Regions from separate parts of the Homo sapiens genome. Here region 1 is linked to region 2. The links are contacts of gene promoters, found by promoter capture Hi-C in blood cells and fetal thymus (Javierre and others, 2016). All regions are on one chromosome and are shown on one strand. The core of a region is centred on a gene start or on the middle of the fragment in contact, and the rest is flanking DNA. Distances in the headings are between cores, read along the strand shown.

Evidence for each region. The method cuts DNA at HindIII sites, captures the fragments that hold promoters and counts their contacts. A CHiCAGO score of 5 or more calls a contact.
Region 1: a contact is called between a fragment that was not itself captured here and the fragment with the promoter of ZBTB7B in region 2, in 1 of 17 cell types (naive B cells). The highest score is 5.1, in naive B cells.

What each region holds. Positions count from the first base shown.
Region 1 is chr1:154,601,097-154,603,959 of GRCh38, forward strand. It overlaps ADAR (adenosine deaminase RNA specific), which reads right to left. Exons shown (of 15, transcript NM_001111.5): 2 at 1-1,530. Among named protein-coding and RNA genes, the nearest start is that of ADAR, 5.7 kb to the right of the region's middle. The HindIII fragment of the contact is 3,398 bases long and covers 1-2,863 here.
Region 2 is chr1:155,001,509-155,004,208 of GRCh38, forward strand. It overlaps ZBTB7B (zinc finger and BTB domain containing 7B), which reads left to right and starts at 1,294. Exons shown (of 3, transcript NM_001256455.2): 1 at 1,294-1,435. RefSeq lists silencers at 193-432, 543-732, 2,443-2,562. The HindIII fragment of the contact is 14,435 bases long and covers 1-2,700 here.

The sequences.
Region 1 (2,863 bases), core at 146-2,645, 400 kb before region 2:
AGCGAACTGGGCATATTCTAACAGCCCGCTGATGGGGTTCTTCAGCTGGCACTCTGTCAGTTTCTTGTAGGGTGAACACCGTGGCAAGCCATGACTGTAGAAGGAGGGCATCTCCATGATGGCTCGAAACTCACCTGGTGCTGCGCGGATACTATTCAAGTCATCTGGGATGTCATCTGTGGCCCACTGGCCATTTTCAAAGTCAACATACCCTGCTTTTGAGGGGCCATTGTAATGAACAGGTGGTTTCAGTCTTGCTGGTTCTGGTCTGGCCTCTTGCCTGTTTTCTAACTTTATGACAGGTTCCTGCCCATTCTCCACTTTTTCTGTGGTTACCATGTTATTTGAGGCATTTGATGTGGGTATATTACAGGTGAGGAACTCTGCGTTTCTTTTGGTCTCAGGGATTGCAGCTGGAGCGGTTTCAGGAACACTGTTCGTATTTCTCTTGATTTGCATCCTCTCTCGCTTCTTGTCTGTCAAATGCCATATGGGAGGGGTTGTCCCTTGTCTATAGACATCCCCCTGCCTTTCCATGTCAATTAGCACAGCATTTATATCTCGGGCCTTGGTAAGGCCAATATTTTTAGCCAAATTCAGGGCAGAGGAGTCAGACACATTGAAGAGATAGTCGCAGATTTTCTCCTTGATCTCGGCCATGTCTAAAAACTCAAGAGGATCTTCCAAGGCAGATGTGGAGTTGCTGTCTTCAGGTTCCAAACCTGGGTCTGAGTTTGGGGATCCTTGGCTATGACTGTCTGGTCTTACCACTCCGCTGTGCTGGTTCCAAGCCTGAGCTGAGACTGCAATAAAAGGCTCAAGAAGATCTTCTGAGACAGATGTGGAGTTTCTGTCTTCCGGTTCCAAACTCGGGTCTGAGTTTGGGGCTCCTTGGCTATGACCGTCTGGTCTTACCACTCCGCTGTGCTGGTTCCAAGCCTGAGTGGAGACCGCGATTTTCCACAAAGGGGGTGTTCCTGCCTCTTTCTGTAGCTTGCCCTTCTTTGCCAGGGAGTATAAAACTCGATTGATTTCTTTCTTCGGAGTCCCAAGTTTCCCAGACAGATCATGTGCTGTGGTGGCCTTCCCTTCCCCAAGCTCTTCCAGGAACTTTAAGATCCTTTGTTCCTGATCTTGGTAGATACTCAGTTCCTGGAAATGTGAGGAAAGGCAATCAACACCTCTCTGTGGCAGACTCCTGCCACGTGGTGAAGGATGCTGGAACCCTCTCTGGAGCCCCTGACTTCTGAGATGCACGCCCCTGGGGACACCCCTGATGTCCACTTGCCTGCCTCTGGTACTGGAGGCAAGTAGTACTGGAAACCTTGGCCGGAGTCCTGGGAGGGAAGGTGGCAGTGACGGTGTCTGCTTTCCAATCACCGGTGCTTCTGGGAGCTGCCCCTTGAGAAATTCTATTTGCTTAAGCAGGAAACTACTGGGGGAAGATCCTGGCCCAGGCTGCTGGTACCTGAGCTGTCTGTGCTCATAGCCTTGAAATGGATGGGTGTAGTATCCGCTGAGGGAATACCCCTGCAGAATAAGACAGTGGAAAAAGAAAATGAATTAGGGCTGCAGTGGTGAACCTGTGGAGGCCCCTCCCTTTGCTGCCTGTGGAACAGCCCTTGAAGGGCTGAGAAGGCAATTGAGCCATGGGCTTATGACTTGGCTAGGGTGACTTGCCTACCTCCTAAATCCTGCCTAGGGGCCTGCCAACAGGAACACAGAGAGGGGAGCAGGAGGCAAAGCACGCAGAACTTCCAGGAATACAGAGGTTCTGAGGCCTCAGCATAGCCTCTCCAGCAACCTAACTTACTTTTCCCTTTGACAGAATTTAAGGGAGTTGAGAAGGTAATTTTCTAGTTACCAAAACAATTACCCCTTTAAAATCAGAACAACAAATATATGTTATTGTTTTGAAAACAAAAACAGAATAACCTGAAATAACCAGAACAATCACATGAAATAACAATAACCAAGGGAGATGGGACTAGGGAAGGGACGAGATGACCTCTCCTTAAGTCAGGCTCACCAGTGCACCCCTTGCCCACCTGTCTCTAAGATCTATCGTTTAGATGACTATGACAAAAGAAGAAATGTGATTGGATGAAACTGAACCCCAGTCCTCCAAGGCTGTAACAGCGCAGTAACGAAAACAATCTCCAGGTGGGAAAAGGCCACGGGACCTCAGAGTCATCTCTGTGGCTCTTCACTGCCATCCCAGGAGGATCAGAATTTGGTCTTCAGGGAGCTGGAGGGTTTCCTGATAAAAATGGCACACTGTCCTCACTCTTCAGTGTGGTACCCAGGCTCAGAAGGGATGCCAGAGACTTTTGCCCAAACCACCCAGGCTCTCCTGGATGTGTGGAGCTGGCAGCATCTGCTCCTCACCACCTCAGACCAGTCCTACCTTCCCTAGCTACTTCCCCATAGCTGCTTCCACTGCACGTTCTTCTGAACCCTGACGGACAGGGCACAAGCAACCCCATGTTCTCATATGCACATTTACCAGAACACCAAGCACCTGTGACCCCTTTCCCCACCCACCCACCTGCAAACCAGTACTGTCTTCTCCCCAGGGCTGTTCACTGGAGGGTGATGGAGCCAGGAAGTACTTATAAGCCTGGGGGTGTCAGTAAACACCTTGCTTCCTTTCCCTGGGGCTTGTAGACTGGGAGGAGGGATTCTGACAACATTTACTCACACTCACCGCCCCCTCCTCAGACTCTCCTGGAGGCTGCACAGGTAGAGGTGGGACCCTTTCTTCCATAACTCTAGCCTTCTACTCTTCCACATCCTGACACACTTAGGGGATTTCAGCATTCTTGTCAATCACTCTCATGGTGTCCTGGCTACAAGGATCCTT
Region 2 (2,700 bases), core at 44-2,543:
CGGTCCTCCCCAAAACCTACACATACCACACATCCCAAAACATCCAGGCACCCCTCGCCACCTGGGTCTCTCAGCGAATTCATGTCAAGCTATCCCTCCTCGGTGGAGACTCAGTTTCTCCACTTAGGGAACCCGCGGGATGGAGGTGGGGAGCAAAAGCGTCGGCGCGCCCCCTCCCCCTTCGCAGACTGGGCCCCTCCCCTCCGACAATGCCAAGGCCGCAGCGGGCACTGGCGACAGCACAGAGGCTGCTTGCCTGGGGCGCCCTTCCCTCCCCGCGGGGCACCGTCACGCGTGGGGAGGGACGCAGGGCGCCCGCAGGCTCAACTCCCCGGCTCCCTCCGAGAGGGGGTGGGGCGTAGGGGCCGGAGCCGAAGGCCTGGTGGCTCCCCCTCCCCCTCCCTTCTAGGTCCCTGACCTGATTACAGCCCCTCACGGGACCCCCTCCCTCAAGACCCTAAGTCCCCAATTCACCCCCACCCAGCCTATCCCTAACCTCTCATACCCTTCCCTCCTGAGGTCCTGACCCTACAGAAGCCCCTCTTGAAGGAGAGGGAGCCCCTGTAGGGGGTGCTCGATTCCCTGGCCGCTGCGGACACTGCCCCCTCCCCCCTCCTCTCCAGGTTCCAGGCCAGCCCCTCGGCTCCGCCCCCTCCCTGGACGAACGCAAGGCGAGACCTACTGGAGATGAGCGGGTATTCAGGCCAATGAGCGGACAGGGCGGTGGCGTGCAGGGGGCGGGCAGAGCAGCAGCAAAGGGCTGGATGGGGGCCGGGGGCGGAGTTTGAGTTAAGGTGGACTGGGAGAGATAGGGGCAGGAGAAAGGGGGGGGAGAGAGGGACCGCGGCAGGTGAAGGGAGACAGAGAGAAGGAAAGAAGGAGGGAAAGGAGGAGGGTGGGAAAGGCTAGGAGAGCTAAGTAAGAGTTTGGAGAAGGGGGCAAAAAAGGAGGGAGGGACCCATCTGCGCTCTGCAGGGACTGGCTGGACGAAGGGGTTGAAGTTTATGTCCTTATTGGGCGGAGGGAGGGGGCCTGGGGGGGCGGGTGAAAAACCAGGAAGTGACAGAGGGTGTTTCTAAGTGTTGGGGGGGGGGAGTTTGGGGGGTGGCAGGGGCGGGGGGAGGGAGGGGAGGGATGGGGGGAAAGCAAGCTGGAGGACAGGTGAGACAGCAGGACAGGTGAGGCGGGCCCTGAGGGGGGGGCGGGTGGGAGCCAGGTGAATGTACGGCTCTTGGCGGCCGAGGGGGGGCGGGCGGCAGGAGGAGGCAGAGGGCGGCGGAGGAGGAGCCCCCCAGCAGCGAGCGGCGAGCAACTGACCGCGGCCTTCTGACCAGGACCGGAGCAGGGCCCCAAGCCCCCGGGCCTGGTGGGGGACGCGCTTCTTCCCACACTGTGAGCCTCAGCAGCTCCAGCCAGCGGACCCGACGGCTGAGAGGTGAGTGTACCCCACTTTTGTCTCCTGGCTCGGGGTTCACTAGGCTCGAGACTACTGCAGTGTCCTTCGTCCGTCCTGTAAGTGGGACCCCCAGATACACACGCATGCAGATCACATTCCCACCACTCCCCTTCCCTGTGCTTTCCCAACACCCCGGGTCTCTGGAATTGGTTTTAACTGAGATGAAAGACAGAGAAGGAACTGCGGATGCCCCCCAACCCTAGGCGGAGGGTCCCCAGAAAGTTTATCTGCACTTCTCCTGGGATCAGACAGACAGACGGCTTCGGGATGGAGAGGGGGTGAGGCGACGCTGAGCGTTCCCCCAGTCTCCTTCGTGACTTTAGGGGGAGACCCCAGACCGGACTGAGTTGAGGGAATGGAAACGCTGACGGACTCTAACTAGGACAACGCGCACCCCCCCCCCACCCCGCGCCCCCTGGCGCGGTGGATTGGCCCCAGGCCAGTTGCATGGGGGTTGGGGGGGCGCAGGAGGAGCCGCGGCTTGGGGGAAAGTTACCGGCTGGACTATTCGGTTTCTTGCGCTTCCAGAGCCGCGCTCTCTCCAGCGGTAGTGGGGCTCAGCAACAACCTCTGAACCGACATAGAACGACCGCTCTCTTCCCTGCCCCTCAATCCCACTCCCTTCCTTCAGGCTCCAGTCCCGCCGCTACCTTTTCCACGCCAGCTCATGACCACAGAACCCAAGAGCGAGGGCGGGTGACTAGGAAGAATTCTCCTACCTACTACCCGTCCCCCCACCGGCGCCGGCGCACCTGCCCCAGCCCAGAGTGGGGGTCGCTACTGTGTTGTTGTAGAACCTACAGAGTGCGCCTGGCAGAAGGCTGCCATTCAAAGGGGTGGGGGGCGCTGCTTTCAATTTCCAGCTTTCTCTCCCTCCTCCCACCCCATCCCAAGTAAGAGAGCGACGTGTCCCGGCCAGAGCGAGGTGGGGGCGGGAGTGGGGGGGCGGCGTGGGCAGCGGGTTGTGCCCGGACACGTGCCTGCCCAGGCGCCCCGGCCCTGCTGGTGTTTAGAGAGAGGGCGGGTCCCCTGCCCCCCGCCCCGCACAACCCCCACGTATCAAAGGGCGGCTGAGACATGGTGAGACCTCGGGGCGCCCTGGGGGGCAGGGGGGCGGGGAGCCTGGGTCCGGAGCAGGGGAGGGGCAGAGGCGCCGGTGCTAGCTGACCCACAGGAAACGAGCGCTGCTGACCTAGTTTGGGACACCGGAAGTGGGTGCTGGGGAGAGGGGGAGACCGGCAGGC